Regions from separate parts of the Homo sapiens genome. Here all the other regions are linked to region 1. The links are contacts of gene promoters, found by promoter capture Hi-C in blood cells and fetal thymus (Javierre and others, 2016). All regions are on one chromosome and are shown on one strand. The core of a region is centred on a gene start or on the middle of the fragment in contact, and the rest is flanking DNA. Distances in the headings are between cores, read along the strand shown. Region 1 holds the start of ZHX3 (zinc fingers and homeoboxes 3). Region 2 has its middle 79 kb from the start of CHD6. Region 3 has its middle 8.7 kb from the start of CHD6. Region 4 has its middle 94 kb from the start of TOP1. Region 5 has its middle 70 kb from the start of TOP1. Region 6 has its middle 52 kb from the start of TOP1.

Region 1 (4,109 bases), core at 1,568-4,067:
TATTATAGGGATTACCTGAAATCTGCTTAATTTTTTTTAAAGGAAAGTAATATGCCTCTGTGTGTAAATATCATTTGTGACATACCCCCCAACACTGGTATTAAATGGCTGTTTCTTCTGCCTGGAATCTCTGTCTCAACAACTCTTTAGATGTGGCCCCAAAGTCACCTTTTCTGGGAAGCCTACCCACACTCTCCTGTATATTGTTAATTATGCTATTCTCTGTGCTTCCCAAAGCAGTTGGCACATCCATCTTTGTTACATATTTTCTCCCAGAAGTTTTTTGTTTGTTTGTTTTTGAGACAGAGTTTCGCTCTTGTTGCCCAGGCTGGAGTGTAATGCTGCAAACTCGCTCACTGCAACCTGTGCTTCCCGGGTTCAAGTGATTCTCCTGCCTCAGCCTCCCAAGTAGCTGGGATTACAGGTGCGCCTCACTATGCCTGGCTAATTTTTGTATTTTGAGTAGAGATGGGGTTTCACCATGTTGGTCAGGCTGGTCTCGAACTCCTGACCTCAGATGATTCATCCACCTAAGCCTCCCAAAGTGCTGGGATTACAGGCGTGAGCCACTGTGCCCGGCCAGAAGTATTTTTTTTACATGACTGTTTCCTCTGAAATACTGTTCCTCAAAGGTCGGGAGAATACCTCATTTTTCTCAGGATCCCACTGTGCCTGGATCAAAATAGATGCTCAGAAAAGTTTGTTGAATAAATGAAGTTGTATTGGAGCAGTATAACCTATATACATTCTCATTCATCCCAGAAATACTTATTGAGTACCTGAACATGTCGACCCATGTTCTAGATGTTGAAGATGGGAAAAACAAAGTTCCCACCTTCAGAGATATTATAGATGATATTCAGGTTAGAAGGGCTAGGCAGAAAAGTAAAGCAGGCTTAGAGGATAGTGATTGGAGTTGGGACTTGATACTTTAGTAGAGTGGTCTGGGAAAGTCTGGGGAGGTGACTTTTGAGTAGAAACTTGGAAAGCACACGCCTTTCTGATATCTGGAGGAAGCAACACCAAGTACAGAGGTTCTGAAGTAGAAGTGAGCCTCCATATTCCAGGAGCAAGAAGGAGGCTAGTGTGCCTGGCATGCAATGAGGAGGCCGAGTGGAAGGAGGTGCAGTTAGAGAGGTGGAGAGTATAAGTGGACGAAGGGCAGACACATAGGATCTTGGAAGCCTTTGGGAAAAAAACCACATTTTGGAAATGAAAAAAATAGGTGGGCATGGTGGCGTGCACCTGTAGTCCTAGCTACCTGGGAGGCTGAGGTGGGAGGATTGCTTGAGTTTGGGAGGTTGAGGCTGCAGTGAGCTGTGATGGGGCCACTGCACTCTAACCTGGGAGACAGAGTGAGACTGTGTCCCACTCTCCACCCCACTGCCCCCATATTTTTTTTTTTTTGGCTTTTACTCTGAGATGGGAAACCTTCTGGGGGCTTTTGAGCTTAGGTTTCAACAGGATCCCTCTGGCTTCTGTGTTGAGAGAAGGCACCATGAGAGCACAGTGGAATCGTGGAGAACAGGCAGGAGGCTACTACAATATTCCAGGAAAGAGGAAAAGGGGTATTTTAAAGGTAGAGCTGACAGGCTTTTCTAATGGGTTGCATGTGGGATATGATAGGGAGAGTGGAGTCCAGGATGACTCCAATGGTTTGTCTGGAGTCATCAGAAGAATGGAGTTGACATGAACTGAGGTAGGGAAGGTTGTGAAAGGAGCAAGCTAAGGTGCCACGTATGGGTGTTTGACTATCGACTTGTTTACTTGGACACATCGCTCACACTTGTGTATATGCTCCCTGGTTTTCAGGATCTGAAGGTTCTAAAGTTACTTGAAGTTAAAGGCAGCCTTACTTATTGAACACCAAGCACTGTGCAGAAATCTTTATATGTGGTGTCATTTAACCCTTTTAATATTTCTACTGATTTACTCATGTTTCATTGCCCTTTTACAGTTGAGAGATTAACACGTCCAAAGTCACTCAGACAATTATTAACCTGCTAGATTAATGCAGATCTGGGATTCCCATCCAGGTGTGTCAAGACCGTAGAGCTCCTGCTGTTTACTAATCACTGGATTCTAAAGGTGGGAGCCACTTTCTGAGCATATTTGCTGCAGACTTGGTTCCATAACTAAAAAGGTGCCTGGATCATGTGACGAGAATTCAGGAAAGAACCCAACCCCATCCCAGGCATTACAGGTTATACAACAGCTATGAAGAAAGGACGGTATTAGTGGACTCGAGGAGGCTGACTGATGTTTGAAAGTTCAAGTACTTGAAGACTCAATGTTAAAACAGTGATCAAGAGTTAGTTTTTTTGTTATTATTCTTAAGAAAACAGAAAATATTAAAAATTGCAGTGAACCCTTGGTTGGATAAAAGACCACTCCTAGTCGACGCTTGTTGGGAAACACTGGAATTGGAGGAGTGGGGGCAGACAGGAGCGAGAGCCCCTGCCAGCCTACACACACATCCTTTTGAAAGTGTAACCTGGTGTGACCTTCTTTAAGTGGTCCTCTGGAAAGAGCAGGATATGGAGTACAAAAGCCAGGAACCTCTGGGACCGCAGCATCCGCCCCCAGCGCCTCCTTCCCCGTCTTCTTCAGCCTCCACACGGTGGGGCGGGGAGGAGGGGGGAGGAGGAGTGCTGGCGCATGCGCCGGGGGCAAGGTCCGCTCCCCGCGACGTCAGGGGGCTCGCACCCGCTCGAAAGCCCCGCCCCGCGGCCGCCAGAGGCGACCTGGGCGGACTGGGGGGCCTGGGCCACGCCCCCAGCCGAGTCGAGCAAGGCCGAGGGGAGCCGTGCAAGGCCGAGCAGAGCCGAGCGCCTCCGAGAGCGGCCGAGCCCAGCCGAGCGGCCCGGAGTCGGTTGGTGCAGCTGCGTCCCCGCCGCTCAGCAGTCCGCGGCTCCGGCGTCGCCGCCGCCGCCGCCTCTGCGGGGCCTGCGCCGGCCGCCCGCCCGGCCGCGGGGAGGGAGGCCCGCAGCGCGGGAAGAGCGGCCCGGTCGCGGGCGCCGCCACCGCCGCCGCTGCCAGGTGAGCGCCCGCCACGGCCAGCCGGCCCCGCGTGCCCCCGCGGCTGTCAGTCCCCGGTGTCTGTATCTCTCTCTGCCTGTCAGACCCTGTGTCTGCGCGAGCTCCTTCCCGCCACGCCTGGCCCGCGGCCGGCCCGCAGTCTCAGTCAGCCCCCTCCCGCCGGCTGCCCCTGGTCTTTCTGTCAGCCGCCAGCACCCCCATGCTGAGAGGCTCCGCCCCTTCCCCCCGGAGCCCCGCCCTCCGCCATCTGTCATCACCCCCCGGGCTCCAGGAGCGGGCGTCCAGGGGTCCTAGGGGTCAGGGTAGCCCCGCGTGCCACCATCGTAGAAGGCGCAAAAGGGGGTGGTAGAGGGGAAGCGGGGGCGTTCGCGCAGGCCCGCCTGACCGTGTGAGAGTGCATGCCCGAGTGTGCGTTCCGCGTGTGCACCCGAGAGCCGCCTGCGTCCACGCCCGAGGGCCCTTGCACTCTGCTGGGATGTGGCAGCCCATGCCCCCGGTGTAAAGAGCGTCAGCTCGACCAGTGAAGGCGGCAGAGCCAGGACTCGAACCACTCGGGGTACAGTAGCACCCTGAATCTTGGGACCCTTGTCTGCCCACGCGAAAACACTACACGTGGGCCCCAGGTCCTCGGATTCCCTGAGTGGCGTGTGAGTGGAGTTTGGAGCTTGTTAAGCCTTCCCAGTTTGGGATTTTCATTCAGGGAAGCCTGTTGGAAGTGATTGAGGAGTGGATGGGATGTAGGACTTAGGTGGGGAGTGTTTGAGGGCTTGAGTCATTTTGAGTTGCATGGTTTACATTTCTGAGCAGTGATTGCCCTGGGCTTGTGCCCTGCGAGAAACTTATGTGACTTGGGGTGGGGGAGTGAGGTAGGAAGGAATGCTCCTTTCTGTTTTTATCTATGTGAACACATAGTATATATTTATCCAGATATCCTAAATGTTTATTCATGAGGCGTCCACACGTCCTTAATTTAAAAAAGGATTACAGTAGTTTCCATTTATACACGTTCTTGTGTGTTGTTATCTCAATGCTCTTTATTTGTGGTAACTTAGTATTGCAATATTTCAAAA
Region 2 (4,124 bases), core at 127-2,626, 380 kb before region 1:
GGCACCTGGCTTTCCCTAGCATGACAGAAAGAGAGAGACAAAACCAGAGACAGAGAGACCAAGAGAGAAGCTATGATGTATTTTAACCTGATCTGAGAAGTGACATACCATAATTTCTCCTGTATTCTGTTTTTGGTGGGGTGTTTTTGTTTTTGTTTGTTTGTTCGAGACAGGGTCTTGCTCTGTCACCCAGGCTGGAGTGCAATGGCATGAACACAGCTCACTGCAGCCTCAACCTCCTGGGCTTAAGCAATTATCCCGCCTCAGCCTCCGTAGTATCTGGGACTACAGACTCACACCACCATGCCTGGCTAGTTTTTGTATTTTTTGTAGAGACGAGGTCTCATTTTGTTGTCCAGGCTGGTCTCTAATTCCTGGGCTCAAGCAATCCTCCTGCCTCGGCCTCCCAAAGTGCTGGGATTATAGGCATAAGCCACTATGCCCGGCCCTGCTTCTCCTGCATTCTGCTGGTGACACAGACCATTACTGCTGCTACATGGGAGGGGACCAGATAGGGTTTGAAAACCAGGAGGCAGGATCATTGGTGGCCCTCTTAGAAACTGCTTACCACAGTCTCCAAGAAGAACCCCCTCTCCCCCAAACTCCACCTAAACTCTGGAACAGGGAGGTGTGCAGATTTCACTGTTTCAAACTACGGAGGCCCACAACAAACAGTGAATTTACTCTGTCCTGGAAACTCATGTTTTAAGCCCAGTAGAACTGCTTTTCCTCAATTATACTTGAGCGTCATGCCATAGGCCTGCATAAAAGGACATTATAAGAAACAGCTCCAATTAAGTCACCGCTGTATTGCATCACTGTTCAGTCAGCTGACCCACGGGAAAAATATCTCTTTGGTCTCAGGGTCAGGAAAAGTTGAGCTTCTCCCAAATATTTGTTTTTCTCACATAAAATCTAGAATTTTATTACCACTCACATTTCCCTCTTTACTTTGGCCATTTGGAAGCTCGGAGCCAAATGTGTAAGCCTTTGCTGGTGTTGATCTTTTTGAGCTAATGTCATCCTGGAGTTATTTCTTCCACTTGTTTTCTATTTTCTCCAGCTACCTCAACTTTTTGTCTTATCCTTTTGTATATTTTGTACTTTTGTAATTCCCCTCAAAGCTTTTGTGGATTGAGATGGAGTTTAAATACACAATAAAATTAGTTTTTGCCCAAAAGACTGATGACCTGCATGTGCCATCTAGTGGTGAGAGAGACAACTGCCAGAATAGAAACCTCCCTGATTTTTCAGATGTGTTTTAGATGGGAGAGTGGTGAGTAGTGGGCAAGGGAAGAGGAGGGAGACCGGGCCCCCTCTGTGTGCTTTGTCAGGAAATTGAAACTGCTGAGGATTAAAGAGCCTCTAGGCAGGGCCAAGGAGCAGGTGATTCAATGGCTGGAAATGAAGATGATTTATCAGAATCTGAAGAAACAATCAAAAAATAGTGAAGAATGAGGAAGGCACTGGAAGTGGAAGGGTTAAGAAAAAAAACTGTTAGTAAAAGTAAACAATGAAAATGGACCTAATTGAAGCAAGTAATCACTTGAAAGGTGCTTAATGTAGGTTGATCACAGATGTGACCAGCCATTTTTTAAACATTCACATTAACTGTAGAAAGAAGCTTAGAGTCCAATGTTTTTATTTTACTTGAGAGAAAACTGGGGCACAGAAGCATTGAGCATCTTGTTCAAGGTCATACAGCCTATGAGCCCCAGGTCCAGGGTAACTCCTAGATCAGTCCTCTTTCCCCAGCACCACCCTACTCCTAACTGTATATAGCAGATGCTCATTTGGGCTTTCATTTTGCACACAGGGTTTCACAAGAAAAATGAGGTCATTACATAAAAATGCTGGATCCAGCATATTTTCAATGAATTATTACTAGCTGGTTTTGTAGCTACCCCCCTGACCTACCCCCAAAATGTCAGGGTGGTGGTTCAAAGCACTGGCTTCGTTAATCTTCACCATGTGGCAAGTCATCAGTTCACAATGATAGAGAAGGATTCCAGAAGCCAATGGCAGTAGGTGAGGGAGCCCCAATCTGGGGAAGAGAAAGTAAATTCACTCATCTACCATGTTAACCTAGCATCTGCTCTGGGCCAAGTTCTAGGCAGTTTGCTGGGGTGGCAATATCAACAATGCACTGGCCATGTCTGGAGCTATACGTATCCCATCTCCCTGTACCCTGACCTGTGTTCTTGGACACAACTTCAGCTAAAACTGAGGCATAGCTTGGATCTGGAGGGCCCTTGAAGACCTAGCCCAGGGATCTGTAGTCTCAAGTTGAATGTCTTGGAAACAGCCTGAAGTCAGGAACCAATGAGGGGGCTGGAGATACTGTCTAAAAAGGAACTTGAGACATTCCCATACTGGAAAGCACAAATATGGAACATTTTACTCATCTGAAAGAGTTCTATTAAACAGCACTGGCCAAGAGTGCCCTTTCCTGGATTTTCTGCTCCTCTGAGTCCTACCAGTTCTCCTAAGCCCTTCAGCAGCTGATATCAGCAGAGACTGATATGAGTCACTGATTCCTGGAAAAGACAGAACTCTGGTACAATGGCTGTTCCAAGTTGATGTCCTCAGAGGTACAAATGACACACCAGAGACAGAAGTTGTTTCTTAAACTTTCCGGGCTTCTGTGCTAGTAACGGGTGCCAGATGGGGCAAAAAGAACAGAAGGAATATTGAGGGGCTCAACCTTTGAGATCAGAAAGACCCAATTTCCTACCGAGGTTCTCCATTACTAGTTGGGTAATCTTTAGGCAGAGCCTTTGGGCACCAGTTTTCTTAGCAGCAAAAACTGAGAACTATGATTGTCACAAAGATTAAATGAGACAGTGGATGAGACAGTATCTGGCTCATGGGTAAGTGTAGATTTTTTACTCATCTCTTCTTGCGTCCTTTTGGATGCTAATTTCCACTCTGCCAAGGATAAGAACCACATGTCACCTTCTCATCAGGTGACAAGTGGAGGCTAGTCATGGCTAGCTGTTCCACTCATTCTCTTAATGAATATTTGTTATGAAAACAGCAATGGCCAGGTGTGGTGGCTCACATCTGTAATCCCAGCACTTTGGGTCACCTGAGTTCAGGAGTTTGAGACCAGCCTGACCAACATGGTGAAACCCCATCTCTACTAAATACAAAAAATTAGCTGGGCGTGGTAGCGCATGCCTGTAATCCAGCTACTTGGGAGGCTGAGGCAGGAGAATCACTTGAACCCGGGAGGCGGAGGTTGCAGTGAGCCGACATTGCACTGGACTCCAGCCTGGGCGACAGAGCAAGAATCCGTCTCAAAAAAAAAAAAAAAGAAAAGAAAGAAAGAAAAGAGCAACTGCCAGGCCTTGTGTTCTGCATCATACAAAGATAGAAAACACATCCCCAAGAGGAGGAGCTCACTGTCTCTTGGGAAAGACTGGTAGGCAAACCAGTAGTTACACAGCAGGGGGACAAGAAGTGAATTGAGAGTGCACAAGGAGAGCACAGAGGTGATGATATTTCAGCCAAGACAAAGTGTGAATAGAAGTTTGCCTGATCAGCAAGCACATAGGAGAGGGCATGCCAAGCAGAGATAACAGAACTTGCAAAAAAGGAAGACTGGAAAGTGAGGTAAATCCAATTACGAAGGTCTCTGAGCACTGTGCTGAGGAGTTTGAGCTAAAACTTGTAGGGGACACAAAGCCTCTAAAGGAAAGTCAAGTCATCATATTTGAGTACTGAAAATATTCCTATACTGCCAGTGTGGATATGGTTTAGAAGAGGCAAGACTAGGCTGGGTGCAGTGGCTCACACCTGTAATCCCAGCACTTTGGGAGGCCCGGCGGGTGGATCACCTGAGGTCAAGAGTTTGAGACCAGCCTGACCAACATGGAGAAACCCCGTCTCTACTAAAAATACAAAATTAGCCGGACGTGGTGGCGCATGCCTATAATCCCAGCTACTCATGAGGCTGAGGCAGGAGAATCGCTTGAACCTGGGAGGTGGAGGTTGCGGTGAGCCAAGATTGTGCCACTACACTCCAGCCTGGGCAACAAGAGTGAAACTCTGTCTCAAAAAAAAGAAAAGAAAAGAAGAGGCAAGACTGGTAAAAGGAAAGCCAGTCTCAATTTGTTCCACTC
Region 3 (4,010 bases), core at 518-3,017, 310 kb before region 1:
CATGTGCACTCATACATTCGTCACTGCACTATTCACAAGAGCAAAGACATAGAATAACCTAGATGGCCATCCATGGTGGATTGGATAATGAAATGTGGTACATATACACCATAGAATACTATCTAGCCATAACAAAGAATAAAATCATGTCCTTTGCAGCAACATGGATGTAATTGGAGGTCATTATCCTAAGCTAACTAATGTAGGAACAGAAAACCAAATACCAAATGTTCTCACTTATAAGTGGGAGCTAAGCATTGGGTACAAATGGACATAAAGATGGGAACAATAGACACTGGGGACTACTAGTGGTGGGAGGGAGGAAGGAGGGAAGGACTGAAAAAACTCCTATTGTGTGCTATACTTACCACCTGGGTGACGGGATCATTCACACCCCAAACCTCAGCATCACACAATATTCACATGTAACAAACCTGCACATGTACCCACTGAATCTAAAATAAAAATTGAAATTATTTTTAAAAATTTTAAAAGCAGTGCTTAGTTCATATTAATTATGCAATAAAATTAGCTATTATGAACTGTCAATGTAACAGTGCATGTTTTAGTAACATGGGGGCATCATTCTCTTCAACTTTATTCCCTTCTGGCATATATTCCAAAAAGAAGCAAAAGAAGTGGTAGGAGCTGGACTTCCTGGCATCCAGAGATTTAACTACAATCATGAAAGCATAAGAATCATTCACAATAAATGGAATTGGATGGAGAAAAACAACTTACTGCCATCAGTTTCGTTCAAATTGCTGATGGTTGATCTGGAGTTTTCTGTTACGAACAGGCTTTGATACAAGTAGGCAATGCAAGTGATACGGTTTGGCTCTGTGTCCTCAACCAAATCTCATGTTGAATTGTAATTCCCAATGTTAGGGGAAGGACCTGGTGGGAGGTGATTGACTCATGGGGGCAGATTTCCTCCTTTTTGTTCTCATGATAGTGAATGAGTTCCCATGAGATCTGGTTGTTTAAAAGTGTGTAGCACTTCCCCTTTCTCTTTCTCTCTCTTTCTCTCTCTCTCTCCTGCCGCCACGTGAATATGTGCTTGTTTCTCCTTTGCCCGTCCACCATGATTGTAAGTTTCCTGAGGCCTCCCCAATCATGCTTCCTGTCCAGCCTGCAGTAATGTGAGTCAATTAAACCTCTTTTCTTGCTAAATTACCCAGTCTCAGGTAGTTCTTTATAGCAGTGTGAGAACAGACTAATACAGCATGTTTGCTGAATGGGACTGAAATGAGTCATAGAATAACCTAAAATATCTGGATGTAGATCATATGTTAAGAAAACACTTAAAATGTGGGGCAAATTTATACAAAGCACATTTTAAATATACAGTAACTTAATGATGGCTGTCAGTTGTATCACCCAAGGAAATACTGTTATCTATTGCTGCATTACAAATTATCTCCAAAGCTTGGTGGCTTAAAAACAACAATAAACATTTATTATCTCACATAGTTTTCATAGGTCAGAAATTTGAGAGTGACTTAGGTTTTCATGAGGTTGCAGTCAAAATGTTGGCTGGGGATGGATGCAGTCTCATCTGAAGGCTTGACTAGGCATGGAGGATCTACTTCCAAGATGGCCCATTCACATGGTTCCTGACAAGAGGCCTTGAGTTCTTGCCACAAAGACTTTTTCCATAAGGCTGACTGAATGTCCTCATGTCATGACAATGGACTCTTCCCATTGCAAATTACCCAAAACAGCAAGACAGATGCTGCAATGCCATTTATGACTAGCATTGGAAGTTACACTCTGTCACTTCTGCAATATCCTACTGGTTACATACATAAATCAGGTCTATTCAGTACAGGAGAGGGCAGTATAAGGGTTTGAATCACAGCAAGTGAGTATCACTGGGGGCCAACTGGAAGGACAGTTACCATGCTTCACCTCAGCAAAAACATGGAAACTAATTAATTTTTTAAAACTATAGTTTTTTGTTTCTAGTATGTAAAACTGTGTTGCTTATTTTTATTACCAGTTTTCAGACGGTAGCCTCACCAAATTGGTCAGTAATGTTGATGGTAGAATTGCACACATAAAGAAAAGGATTCTACAGCAACTTGAGGCTTAGTAAAAAGCTTAAGAACTTTTTTGTTGCTGTGGTTTTTTTTGTTTTTTTTTTTTTTTGTTTGTTTGTTTGTTTGTTTTTGGAGACAGAGCGTTGCTCTATTGCCCAGGTTGGAGTGCAATGGTGCTATCTCAGCTCACTGCAACCTCCGCCTCCCAGGTTTAGGTGATTCTCCTGCCTCAGCCTCCCAAGCAGCTGGGGTTACAGGCGCACACCACCATGCCCAGCTAATTTTTGTATTTTTAGTAGAGACAGGGTTTCACCATGTTGGCCAGGCTGGTCTCGAACTCCTGACCTCAAGTGATCCACCCGCCTTGGCCTCCCAAAGTGCTGGGATTACAGGCATGAGCCACAGCGCCCGGCCTTAAGCAAGTTTTTATGGCTGAAACTGTCTAATGGTCATTGCAGGAAAGTACACTGCTGAGCAAGAATGAAGGATTTACGAAGCTGTTTCAGGGTAGCGTGACCAGCGTTTTTGAAAAATCCTGCCCAAGAACATTTGAGGTGTGATTTTCCATAAATCATAGTAACTGAAAGGGACCACAGTCATTTTTATATATAACCTTGGATTTAAAAAATCAAAATAGCGGTAGTGCTATACATGGGTGAGAGTGAGAGCTCTGTGGCACTGTAAGAGTTAAATCAGTGAGATTAATACATGAGGGGTAGAGGCCATATATCAGTAGAAGGCACTCCAAAAGACAGAAGGTTCCCCAAGCCAAACACAAGAACAGAGATTGACTTCAGTTAAATCAATGGAATTAATATGTTTCAAAACCTGCAGGTCGACAAAGGGGGAAAGTCTATACAGAACACGGGGAAATGGGAGGCAGAGGAAAGGCTGCGATAATTATATATTAATAACCAATTTGTTGAGCAGTTGCCATGTGCAAAGCACTTTGCATGAATCATTTAATCCACACAACAACCCTATTATTGGAATCATGAAACTGTAAGTTAAGTGACTTTCTTTTTTTTTCTTTTTTTTGAGATGGAGTCTCACTCTGTCACCCAGGTTGGCATGCAGTGGCACAATCTTGGCTCACTGCAACCTCCATCTCGCAGGTTCAAGCAATTCTCCTGCCTCAGCCTCCTGAGTAGCTGGGATTACAGTGGTGTGTGCCACCAAGCCCAGCTAATTTTTCCATTTTTAGTAGAGACAGGGTTTCACCATGTTGGCCAGGCTGGTCTCAAACTCCTGACCTCGGGTGTTCCACCCACCTCAGCCTCCTAAAGTGCTGTGATTACAGGCATGAGCCACCATGCCTGGCCTGTTAAGTGACTTTCTTAAGGACACTAGTGGTAGAGCTGAGATTTGAACCACATCTGTAGGGCTTCAAAGCCTGTGGGCTTAACTAGTCTTATCCAGCTTTGTGCTGGAGAATGGAGCTTCTGGCAGGAGGATGCCTTGTGGCAGATTCACCCCTACAGTAGAGATACAGGGATTGGACCAGTGTAGTTCCAGAATACTGGCTATTAGCATCATCCCCTCAGTTCCAGGTTCCAGAAATCACCTTCTGATCATGTCTCCTCTTCCCACAGAGAGAGAACAAGGTCAGGGTCTGACAAGACAGGCTGGGCTGCTTGGCAGGTACAATTCTCAAGGGAACTAAAAAGGATATTTTTAAGATGTTTAATCATGAAATATTTCAAACATACAGAAAATAATATAAGAGATGGGCCGGGAGCAGTGACTCATGCCTGTAATCCCAGTGTGTGGGGAGGCCAAGGCAGAAGGATTGCTTGAGTCTAGGAGTTTGAGACCGGCCTGGGCAACACAGCAAGATCCTGTCTCTGAAGAAAAAAAAAAAGAGAGAGAGAGAGATGACTGAAAAGGTACCTTTACTGACAGTGCGTTGTGCTTGCTTCACAGTTTTCAAAAACTCTGAGAGATTAAAACACAGAGACTTTATCTAAG
Region 4 (3,762 bases), core at 189-2,688, 380 kb after region 1:
GTTCTCTACCTCTCACTTTCTGGGTGATGGGATCATCCATATCCCAAACCTCAGCATCATGCAATATACCCATGTAACAAACCTGAACATGTACCAAATTTGAATCCAAAATAAAAGCTGAAAAAACTGTATATACAGATATATTTTATTAAAGTAATTTGGCTAGAACTGGGAGGATGGAAACTGATGTTTATTAAAGCTTTACTATGAGATAATAAAAAATACAAAGAAACTCCCTTCCCATTAGCAAGCACTTCCCATTCCCCTCTTCTTCCAACCCCTGGAAGACATTAATCTACTTTGTATCTCTATAGATTTAACCATTCTTGATATTTCATAGAAATGGAGTCATACAACATGTCATCCTTTGTGACTGGCTTCTTTCACTTAGCATGATGTTTTAAAGTTTCACCCACGTGGTAGCATGTGTCAATACTTCATTATTTTTTACTGCTGAATATTAAATTCAGGAATATTGTATGGATAAATCACATTTTGTTTATCCATTCATCAATTGGTTGGCATTTTGGTTGTTTCAATTTTTTTTGGCTATTAGGAATAATTGCTGCTACAGACATTTGCATATAAGTTTTGTGAGAACTTTTTTTTTTCCTTTTGTGTATATACCAAGGAATAGAATTGCTGGGTCACATGGTAACTCAATGTTTAACTTTTTGAGGAACTGCCAAACTGCTTTCCAAAGCAGCTTCACCAGTAATGTATGAGGGTCCCAATTTCTGCACATCCTGACCAACACTTGTTATTGTTCATCTTTTCGATGATAGCTATCCTGATGAGTGTGAAATGGTATCTTGTTGTGGTTTTGATTTACATTTCCCTAATGACTAATGATGTTGAGCATGCTTTCATGGGCTTCTTGGGTATTTGTATATCTTCTTTGAAGAATATCTATTCAAATCTTTTGCCTATTTTTAAATTGGGTTGTTTGTCTTTCTATTATTGAGTTGTAAGAATTATTGATATATTCTGGACATTAGAACCTTATGAGATGCATGATTTGCAAATATTTTCTTTCATTCTGTAGAGAAGTCTTTTTGCTTTCACTCTAATTCTTCTCATTTTCTTGATAGTGTTTTCTGAAGTAGAAATTTAAACAATATCAATGAAGTCAACTTTATGCTCAACTTTGAGTTATTTATTTATTTATATATTTGGGGGATGGAATCTTGCTCTGTCACCCAGTCTGGAGAGCAGTGGCGTGATCTTGGCTCACTGCAACCTCCACCTCCAGGGTTCAAGTGATTCTCGTGTCTCAGCGTCTCCAGTAGTTGGGATTATAGGCGTGTGCCATCATGCCTGGCGAAATTTTGTATTTTTTTTTTTTTTTTTTTTTTTTAGTAGAGATGGGATTTCATCACATTGGTCAGGCTGGCGTTGAACTCCTGACCTCAGGTGATCCGCCTACCTCGGCCTCCCAAAGTGCTGGGATTACAGGTGTGGGCCACCAAGCCTGGGCTTGAATTAATTTTTAATTATGGTACAAACTATGGATTGATTTTTCTCTCTTTTCTGCCTTCTTTCTCCATCTAATTGACTTGGCACGTTTTTCAAAAGTCAACTGACATGTGTATGTAGGCCTATTTTTGGAAAAAGTCCTGTTACCTTTACCTTCAAAGTACCTTTCAGATTTTTTCCCTTTTCTCTCTCTCTCTTTTATAGAGACAGGGTCTTGCTATGTTGGCCAGGTTGGTCTTGAAATCCTGGCCTCAATAAATCCTCCCATCTTGGCCTCCCAAAATGTTGGGATTACAGGTGTGAGCCACCACACCCTGCCTTTGTCCCCTTTTCTCTATCTCTACAGTACCCTGCCAATCCTGGGCCAACACCTGCCACTTTGGTGGCTGCAGCAGCCTCCTCCCTGGATCCCTTTCCCCACTCTTGTCTTACCCCTAATCCATTGTTCACTCAGCAGTGGAAGGAATTTTTATCAGGTGCTGGTATGCTCAACACCCTTCATTAGCTTCCCACTGCCCTTAGATAAAATGCAAACTTTATGTCATGCTATATGTCTGCATGGTCCTTTACTCAACTTCCTTTCTGATCTCATCATCTGCTACCACATTCTCCCTTGCTCCCTGGCCTCCTTGCTCCCTGTCCTTTTTTGAATTTTTGGAATGCATCCTGCTCCTTCTTACCTCAGGGCCTTTGCACATGCTATTCCCTCTGCCTGTGAAGCTCTTCTCCCCACTTTTGCATTCTTGTGTATCTATGAGTTACTCATATTTCTGTTTCAATATTTCTTTTTCAGCGAAACTGACTCATCTCTTATCCTCCATCTAAATTCAGTCTTTCTCTATTGCCTACCTTCCTGTCTCATTATCTCTAATCATGCTCCACATTGTTAAGCTACTGCTGTGTAACAACAGCAAAAATAGCACAGCATCTCAGTGACATTCAATAGTAAGTATTTATTTCATTCATGGGTTGGTGGCTCAGCTCTCATCCACTTCTTGTTCATCTCCTGGGATCAGCAGGCTAGGCAGGGTATGTTCTCATGGCTATGGCTAAAGTGTAAGAGGGTAAGCCTCCTTGTACAAGCTCATGTAAGATTCTTGCTTATGTCGTGACTACTCACATCTCATGGGCCAAAACAATGCCCAAATTTGCCAAAGTCCATGGATGGGAGGGATTGCAATGTTATATTGAAAAAGCTTGATACATAGAGGGGTGGAGAATTGGAGCCAGTCATTCAACCTACCCCATATCCTTTGCACAGTCACATTAAATAATGAATAACATATTTCTTATTTGATTATTTAATTGTTTATCTCCCTGCTCCATGAGAGCAGGGCATTGCCTACCCTGTTTACTTCTTTATGCCTCAGTGTACTGTACTGAGTGTATGCACTGTACCTGGAATATATTAGATTATCAATATTGAAGTAATTGGTTGGATAAATAAAGGAATGAATGAGGCCGGGCATGGTAGTGCATGCCTGTAATCCCAGCACTTTGGGAGGCCAAGATGGGTGGATTGCTTTAGCTCAGGGGTTCGAGACCAGCTGGGCAAAATGGTGAAACCCCATCTCTACAAAAAACACAATATTAGCCAGACCTGGTGGTGCATGCCTGTAGTCCTAGCTACTCAGGAGGCTGAGGTGGGAGGGTCATTTGAACCCAGGACATTGAGGCTGAAGTGATTCTTAAGCATGCCATTGCACTCCAGCCTGGGTAATAAAGTGAGACTCTATCTCAAAAAAAAAAAAAAAAAAAAAAAAAAGAATGTTTCCGTCTTTCACCCTCCCTCTTTTCTATCTCTGTAAAATGAGAATCATCATCTTCCAATCATTGGGATGTTGGAAAGATTCTGTTTAAATGAGGCTTTATCATCTGGAAGACCCATAGGATTTGGTAGTTCAAAGTCCAGCACAAGCTGAGGGTCGTATCCTGACCCAAGGGTCATGTAAGGGGCCAGCATACCCTCAAGCCCACTCACCAGGGAGCAGCACATCCTGTGGTCCGTCTGTAGGTCAGTGGATTGCATCCAGGCTCCTGGAATCAATGCCCCCAGTCTGAGAGTTCCCAGGTCCCCCTGCAAAACTGACAGCTTGATCCCCATGAAAAGTATCTGCTTATGAGGTCAACTATCATGCCTCACTGGGCCCCCTCACCCCCACTCCCTCTGTACAGGCTACAGACATGCTGTGTAGCAGCATGAAGGATGTCCTTCTCAGTATCATCTGGCTCTGAGTAGAGGGCATATTTATAGGATAGGAAATGTCACACCTATGTTTCCAGTAT
Region 5 (3,827 bases), core at 117-2,616, 360 kb after region 1:
GCCTGAGAACAGAGCCCCAGGATGGCCTGGGCTCCCCCTCTCCACCTGGCAGTCCCCTTTGGCCTGGGTAAATCGGAAATGAGGGCGGCCGCAGTGAGTCCCAGCCCTCACCCTCCATGCTCGGCTGTTTTCTTGGCAGCAAGACCTAGGGAGGCTCCCATGGCTGATTTTAGATTTGTTTTCAAAAACTGAAAGGAGAGAAATAATCCTAGCGAGAAAACAAAACAAAACAATAAAAAACAAACAAAACCTCTTCTAAAATGTTTCAGTCCTGAGCCTTGTCCCCACTCTGTGTGCACTTTCTGGTATTTGACCACCTTTGCCACCAGCCCCTGCTGCTGGGACCTTGAGCCAGCCCCAAAGCTCGTGAGTCCCTGTCCTCTGCCGTGGAATGGGGATTACATTATACACATCTCTGGGTTTGGGAGGTGATGGAAGGAGATGGGGGAAAGGGATGCATTTTGTAAATGAGGCCTTCTGATGATAATTTTATCATAGGCAGTAGACAAATACACTCACACGCCCCCAAATCACTAATGGGACCTCCCTCTGAAGGTGCTCCTTGCTTCTTGAGACGGGCATGATTACTCAGTAGATTCTGTGTAATTATTTAATCAAGCTCCAGCGAGTCCTCAAGTCCTCGGTGTGGAGCTGGGCTGCTGACCAGGCCCCAACCTCCCCTCCTCCTGCAGGGAGGCATAATCAGAGATGCTGAGAGGGAGGAGAAGCCCCAAGCACTTCTTTTCTTTGTGCAACAACTGGGTTGTGTGGGAGGGACAGCCGGGAGGGAGGGGGCCAGGTCACCTTGGGGCTCTCTTCAACAGTGGACGGGGCAGGAGGGGTCTTTAGAGACCTGTTTATGCTGTGCCTTTCTCTTTGAGGACACTGAGGATCAGAGAGGAAAAGCCAGCACGTCCCATGATTTCCCAACTGCAGACTTGGCTTCTGCCACTCATTCCCTCCCTCCCTCCCTCCCTTCCTCCCTTCTTTCTTTCCTTCCTTCCTTTCTTCCCTCTTTCCTTCCTTCCTTCCTTCTTTCCTTCCTTCCTTCCTTCCCTCCTCCTTCCTTCCTTCCCTCCTTCTTTCCTTCCTTCCTTCCCTCCTTCTTTCCTTCCTTCCTTCCTCTCTTCCTCCCTCCCTTCCTTCCTTCTCTCCTTCTCCTTCTTGACCCTCCTTTCCCATTGATTCCCTTCCCCTCCCCTTCCCTCCCTTTCCCTTCCCTCTCCTCCTTTCTCTCTTATAATGAAAGTACTGAACAGATGGCTGGGTGCAGTGGCACAGGCCTGTAATCCCAGCACTTTGGGAGGCTGAGGCTGGTGGGTCACCTGAGATCGGGAGTTTGAGACCAGCCTGGCCAACATGGCGAAACCTCATCTCTACTAGAAATACAAAAATTAGCTGGGCGTGGTGGTGGGCACCTGTAGTCTCAGCTACTTGGGAGGCTGAGGCAGGAGAATTCCTTGAACCCGGGAGGTGGAGGTTGTAGTGAACCGAGATGGCGCCACTGCACTCCAGCCTGAGCGACAGAGTGAGACTCCTTCTCAAAGAAAACAAACAAAGAACAAAAAAGTACTGAACAGATGCATGCATTCTCATGGTCAAACATGCAGATCATACAACAAAAGCAAAGGTCTCCCCAGATCCCTCTCTTCCCCCCCACCCAAATTCCCAATTCCCTCCTCAGAGACAACCCCAGCTCCCAGTTTGGAGACTCCCTTCAGACTTTCTGCTATGCATTCATACATTTACCTAAGTTCCTATAGAAGTTCTAGTTAGGTGTTTACTTTGGTTCATGTAAACATTCCTGACAATGCTGTCTAGACCAGTTCTCACTGTGGGGGGTGGGAAAGCGGGATGGGGAGGGAATTTTACTCCCCAGGAGACATTTGACACCATCTGAAGACATTTTTGATCATCATGGCTGGGGAGGGAGGTGCTCCTGGCATCTGGTGTGTAGAGTGCTAAAGGAGTGTTGCTAAACAGCCTGCCTTGCCCCGGACAGCCCCCAACACGAAGAATGATCCGGCCCAAAATGTCAGTAGTGCCAAGGTTGAGGAATCCTGGTCTGGAACGTTCTCAACTTGCTTTTTTCTAATAATAATAATGATTAATAATAATAATATATCTTGGAAATCTTTGCAGGTTAGGCAATATCTTTCTCTCATTCTGATGACTTCTGTGTCTTCTTTTGACTACATCACAGTCCATCCATCTCATCCCCTTTAGATTGATTTCAGGTTGTTTGTGACTTGGCGGTATTAATAGAAACATCCTTGTTATTCCCTGGTTTGGATGCTTGGGAGTGGGATTGCTATGTCAAAGGGGTAGTTATTGGTTGATTGATTTACTAAGTCCTCATATAGTGCTTCTATTTTAAATACAACAGGCACTTATTTATTATTGTTATTATTTTGAGATGGAGTCCTGTTCTGTTGCCCAGGCTGGAGCGCAGTGGCACAATCTTGGCTCACTGTAACCTCTGCCTCCCAGGTTCAAGCGATTATCCTGCCTCAGCCTCCCGAGTAGCTGGGATTATAGGCGCGCGCCAAGACGCCTGGCTAATTTTTTTGTATTTTTGGTAGAGACGGGTTTTCGCCATGTTGGTCAGGCTGGTCTCAAACTCCTGACCTCAGGTGGTCCGCCCGCCTCAGCCTCCCAAAGTGCTGGGATTACAGGCCACAACATCCACTTATTTTTAACTTTGATAGATACACTGCGCTTTTCCACAAAGGCTGTGCCAGCTGACCCTCTGTCCTTTCCTAGCTCAAAGCCAAGGTTTCAAGGAAAATGATACAAACAAAAGTTTTGAGTTATAGTTACTATGTCTTCAAGAGGACTAAAGGAAACTCAACCTTCCTAGGGTGGATGGGGGCCCAGTCTTGCCAGCCCCAATGGCAGCCCTTGCCATAGGCCCTCCACCATGTAGCTGGCAAGGGACAGACTTGTCCATCCCCATCAGCCCTGTGCAGCATGAAGGGGAAGAACTGGGACAGGCTGGGAGCCTCTGTTTTGCAGATAAGGCTCAGCAAGGCTGTGTGATTTGCCCACCAGCTCCGAGAAGTCACATCTTCCCAGAGCCCCTAGTGGGACGCCCATGGGTTGAGCAGGGGGAGAGCAGCGTGCAGAGTGAGACTGGGCTATGGTTATGGACACTGGAACTTCTCATAGTGACATCAGCTCAATACTCTACCAGGTCCCTCATGGCCCTGGGGCCAGGGTTGCCAGGTTTTACATGACATCTATGCAATATTTGGGACATTCTTACCCTAAAAAATTGTTCATTGTTTATCTGAGATTTGAAAGTAACTGAGCAACCGTGTTTACCTGGCGACCCTGCCTGCTGCTCTCTGCACCGTGTCTTCTCCATGGATAAAGGGGCAGGAAGGGGCAAATGGCTGGGACCAGACAATCTCTCCATTTCTCACCTACCCCTTTCTCCCTTCTCTCCCGCTTCCTTCAGAGTCTGAACATCCATATTCGAGAGCATGTTCTTGCCTACATGTGAATGGCAAGGCTGGAACGGAAGGCGGCAGACGTGTCCAGGGCAGCACTGATGGCCGGACTGACCCCACCTCCCCCCATCGTCCATACTTAGAGCCAGCGGCCACTGCAAGTGTAATTAGTCAATAAATCATCCCGAGTGATAAATAGAATGATAGATGCAGGTTTCACTTGATCACTTTTTTATTAAGGAGAAATAAATCAGCACCACATTGTTGCTATAAACCTTTCAAACTGGTCAGATCCTGGCTGGTAGGAGCTGATTAACATGGCCACGTGTAGAGACCATTTGTAGCTGATCATTGAGATCAATCAATCCCTGTCAA
Region 6 (3,912 bases), core at 1,314-3,813, 340 kb after region 1:
CCAAGTCCCTTTGAATACGTGGAAAGCCTTGTCCTTCCACAATACTTGTCCTTCACAGTCTGGGCTTGTTTGTACCTGTCCACAAGAAAGGCAAGTACAAACAAACCCAGACTGTGAAGAGTACAACAGATACCTAACTGTTAAATGCACAGTCACTGACAAACATCCACAAGCATCAAGACCATCCGGGAAAACATGGCATCACCAAACAAACTAAATAAGCCCGTGGGGACCAATCCTGGAGAGACAGAGATATGTGATCTTTCAGATAGATAATTCAAAATAGCTATTTTGAGGAAACTCAAAGAAATGTAAGAAAAACCAGAGAAGGAATTCATAATTCTATCAGACAAATTTAACAAACAGATTGAAATAATTAAAAAGAATCAGGCAGAAAGTCTAGAGTTGAAAAATACAATTGACATGCTGAAGAATGTACCAGAGTCTCTTAATACCTGAATCGATCAAGCAGAGAAAGAATTAGTGAGCTTGAAGACAGGCTATTTGAAAATGCACAGTCAGAGGAGACAAAAGAAAAAAGAATAAAAAAGAATAAGGCATATCTACAAGATCTAGAAAATAGCCTCAAAAGGGCAACTCTAAGAGTTACGGAGCTTAAAGAGGAGGTAGATAAGAGATAGGTGTAGAAAGTTTATTCAAAAGGATAATAACAGATAACTTCCCAAACCTAGAAAAAGATACCAATATCTAAGTATGATAAGGTTATAGAATACCAAGCAGATTTAACCCAAAGACTACCTCAAGCCACTTAATAATCATACTCCCAAAGGTCAAGGATAAATAAAGGACCCTAAAAGCAGCAAGAGAAAGGAAACAAATAACATACAATGGAGTTCCAATATGTCTGGCCACAGACTTTTCAGTAGAAACCTTACAGGACTGGAGAGCATGCCATGACATATTTAAAGTGCTGAAGAAAAATAAGCCTTTTACCCTAGAATACTATATCAGATGAAAATATCCTTCAAACATGAAAGAGAAATATTTTCCCAGACAAACAAAAGCTGAGGAATTTCATCAACACCAGGCCTGTTCTACAAGAAATGCTAAAGGCAATACTTCAGTCAGAAAGTAAAGGACAGTAATGAGCAATAAGAAATCATCTGAAGGTACAAGACTCACTGGTAATAGTAAGTACACAGAAAAACAGAATGTTATAACACTGTAACTGTAGTGTGTTATACTGCTCTTAAGTAGAAAGACTAAGAGATGAACCAGTAAAAATGATGACTACAAAAGCTTTTCAAGACATAGGCAGTACAGTAAGACATAAATCGAAACAAAAAGTTAAAAGCAGGGGGATGAAATTAAAGTGTAGAGTCTTTATTAGTTTTCTTTTTGCTTATTAGTTTATGCAAGCACTATGAAATTGCTATCAGCTTAAAATGATGGGTGATAAGATAGTATTTGCAAGCCTCATGGTAACCTCAAATCAAAAGCATACAATGCATACACAAAAAATAAAAAGCAAGAAATTAAATCATATCACCAGAGAAAATCACCTTCACTAAAATGAAGACAGAAAAAAAAGGAAAGAAGGAAGAGAAGACCACAGAACAAAAATGACAAAATAGCAGGAGTAAGCCATTACTTATCAATAACATTAAATATAAATGGACTAAATTCTCTAATCAAAAGACACAGAGTGGCTGAATGAATTAAAAAAATAAGACCCAATGATCTGTTGCCTACAAGAAACATACTTCACACACAGACTGAAAATAAAGGGATGGAAAATAATATTCCATGCCTCTTAAACCAAAAAAAGAGCAGGAGTCACTATACTTATATCACACAAAATAGACTTCAGGACAAAAACTATAAGAAGAGACAAATAAGGTCACTATATAATGATAAATGAGTTAATGCAGTAAGAGGATATAACAATTGTAAATATACATGCACCCAACATTGGAGCACTCAGATATATAAACCAAATACTATTAGACCTAAAGAGAGAGATAGACTCCAATACAATAACAGCTGGAGACTTCCACATCCCACTTTTAGCACTGGACAGATCTTCCAGACAGAAAAATCAACAAAGAAACATTGAACTTAATCTGTACAGTAGACCAAATGGACTTAATAGATATTTACAGAACATTTCATCCAGTAGCTGCAGAATATGCATTCTTTTCCTCAGCACATGGATCATTCTCAATGATATACCATATGTTAGATCACAAAACAAATCTTAAAACATTAAAAAAATTTGAAAAATATATCAAGTATCTTTTTGACCACAATGGAATAAAACTAGAAATCAATAACAAGAGGAATTTTGGAAACTATACAAACACATGGAAATTAACAATATTCTCGTGAATAACCAGTGGGTCAATGATGAAATTAAAGAGGAAATCAGAAAATTTCTTGAAACAAATGATAATGGAAACATAACATACCAAAATCTATGGGATACAGTGAAAGCAGTACCAAGAGGGAAATTTATAGTTACAAGCACCTACATCAAAAAAGAAGAAAAATTTCAAATAAACAATTTAATGATACATCTTAAAGAACTGGAAAAGCAAAAGCAAACCAAACCCAAAATTAGTAGAAGAAAGGAAATATTAACAATCAGAACAGAAATAAATGAAATTGAAACAAACAAAAAACAATACAAAAGATCAACAAAACAAAGTTTTTTTGAAAGATAAACAAAATTGACAAACCTTTAGACAGACAATTGAAGAATAAAAGAGAGAAGACAAAGAAATAAAATCAGAGATGAGAAAGGAAATACTACAACTGATACTGCAGAAATTCAAAGGATAATTAATGGCTAGTATGAGCAAATATATGCTAATAAGTTAGAAAATCTAGAAGAAATGGATAAATTTCTAGATACATACAACCTACCAAGATTGAATCATGAGGATCCAAAACCTGGCCAGGCACGGTGGCTCATGCCTGTAATCCCAGCATTTTGGGAGGCCAAGGTGGGCGGATCATGAGGTCAGGAGATTGAGACCATCCTGGCTAACACGGTGAAACCCCATCTCTACTAAAAATGCAAAAAATTTGCTGGGTGTGGTGGCGGGCACCTGTAGTCCCAGCTACTCAGGAGGCTGAGGAAGGAGAATGGCGTGAACCTGGGAGGGGGAGCTTGCAGTGAGCTGAGATCATGCCACTGTACTCCAGCCTGGGTGACAGAGCGAGACTCTGTCTCAAAACAAAAACAAAAACAAAAAACAAAAAACAAAACCTGAATGGACAAGTAATGAGTAATGAAATAGAAGCTGTAGTAAAAAGTCTCCCAGCACAGAAAATCCTGGGACCAGATGGCTTCACTGCTAAATTCTACAAAACATTTAAAGAAGAACTAATACCAATCCTACTCAAACTCTTCCAAAAAATAGAGGAGGGAGGAATACTTCCAAACTTATTCTATGTGGCCAGAATTACCCTGATAGCAAAACCAGACAAAGACACATCAAAACAAACAAACAAACAACAACAACAAAAAACAAAAACTACAGGCCAATATCCCTGATGAATTTTAATGCAAAAATCCTCAACAAAATACTAGCAACCAAAATTGAACAACACATTAAAAAGATCATTCCTTATGACTAAGTAGGATTTATCCCAGTGATGCAAAGATGGTTGAACATATGCAAATAAATCAATGTGGTACATCATGTCACAGAATGAAGGACAAAAATCATAAGATCATTTCAATTGATGCTGAAAAAGCATTTGATAAAATTCAACAGCCCTTCATGATAAAAACCCTCAAAAAACCTGGGTATAGAAGGACATACCTCAACATAATAAAACCCATATACAACAGACCCATAGCTAGTACCATACTGAATGGGGAAAAACTGAAAGCTTTTCCTCTAGGATCTGAAGCACTACAAGGATGGCCACTTTCATCACTGT

What was found. The method cuts DNA at HindIII sites, captures the fragments that hold promoters and counts their contacts. A CHiCAGO score of 5 or more calls a contact.
Region 2: a contact is called between a fragment that was not itself captured here and the fragment with the promoter of ZHX3 in region 1, in 7 of 17 cell types (activated CD4 T cells, non-activated CD4 T cells, total CD8 T cells and 4 more). The highest score is 8.9, in activated CD4 T cells.
Region 3: a fragment that was not itself captured here is called in contact with the fragment with the promoter of ZHX3 in region 1 in 1 of 17 cell types (naive CD4 T cells); the score reaches 5.8 in naive CD4 T cells.
Region 4: a fragment that was not itself captured here is called in contact with the fragment with the promoter of ZHX3 in region 1 in 4 of 17 cell types (fetal thymus, total CD4 T cells, activated CD4 T cells and 1 more); the score reaches 6.6 in fetal thymus.
Region 5: a contact is called between a fragment that was not itself captured here and the fragment with the promoter of ZHX3 in region 1, in 8 of 17 cell types (activated CD4 T cells, naive CD8 T cells, naive CD4 T cells and 5 more). The highest score is 22.3, in activated CD4 T cells.
Region 6: a fragment that was not itself captured here is called in contact with the fragment with the promoter of ZHX3 in region 1 in 11 of 17 cell types (non-activated CD4 T cells, total CD8 T cells, naive CD8 T cells and 8 more); the score reaches 16.3 in non-activated CD4 T cells.

The regions. Positions count from the first base shown.
Region 1 is chr20:41,316,439-41,320,547 of GRCh38, reverse strand. ZHX3 (zinc fingers and homeoboxes 3) reads left to right here and starts at 2,817. Exons shown (of 4, transcript NM_001384317.1): 1 at 2,817-3,039. RefSeq lists an enhancer at 2,388-2,437 and silencers at 2,548-2,997, 3,008-3,297. The HindIII fragment of the contact is 7,702 bases long and covers 1-4,109 here.
Region 2 is chr20:41,695,057-41,699,180 of GRCh38, reverse strand. No RefSeq gene overlaps it. Among named protein-coding and RNA genes, the nearest start is that of CHD6, 79 kb to the right of the region's middle. The HindIII fragment of the contact is 500 bases long and covers 1,127-1,626 here.
Region 3 is chr20:41,625,024-41,629,033 of GRCh38, reverse strand. No RefSeq gene overlaps it. Among named protein-coding and RNA genes, the nearest start is that of CHD6, 8.7 kb to the right of the region's middle. The HindIII fragment of the contact is 674 bases long and covers 1,431-2,104 here.
Region 4 is chr20:40,932,522-40,936,283 of GRCh38, reverse strand. No RefSeq gene overlaps it. Among named protein-coding and RNA genes, the nearest start is that of TOP1, 94 kb to the left of the region's middle. The HindIII fragment of the contact is 2,473 bases long and covers 202-2,674 here.
Region 5 is chr20:40,956,823-40,960,649 of GRCh38, reverse strand. No RefSeq gene overlaps it. Among named protein-coding and RNA genes, the nearest start is that of TOP1, 70 kb to the left of the region's middle. The HindIII fragment of the contact is 7,671 bases long and covers 1-3,827 here.
Region 6 is chr20:40,975,177-40,979,088 of GRCh38, reverse strand. No RefSeq gene overlaps it. Among named protein-coding and RNA genes, the nearest start is that of TOP1, 52 kb to the left of the region's middle. The HindIII fragment of the contact is 2,601 bases long and covers 1,263-3,863 here.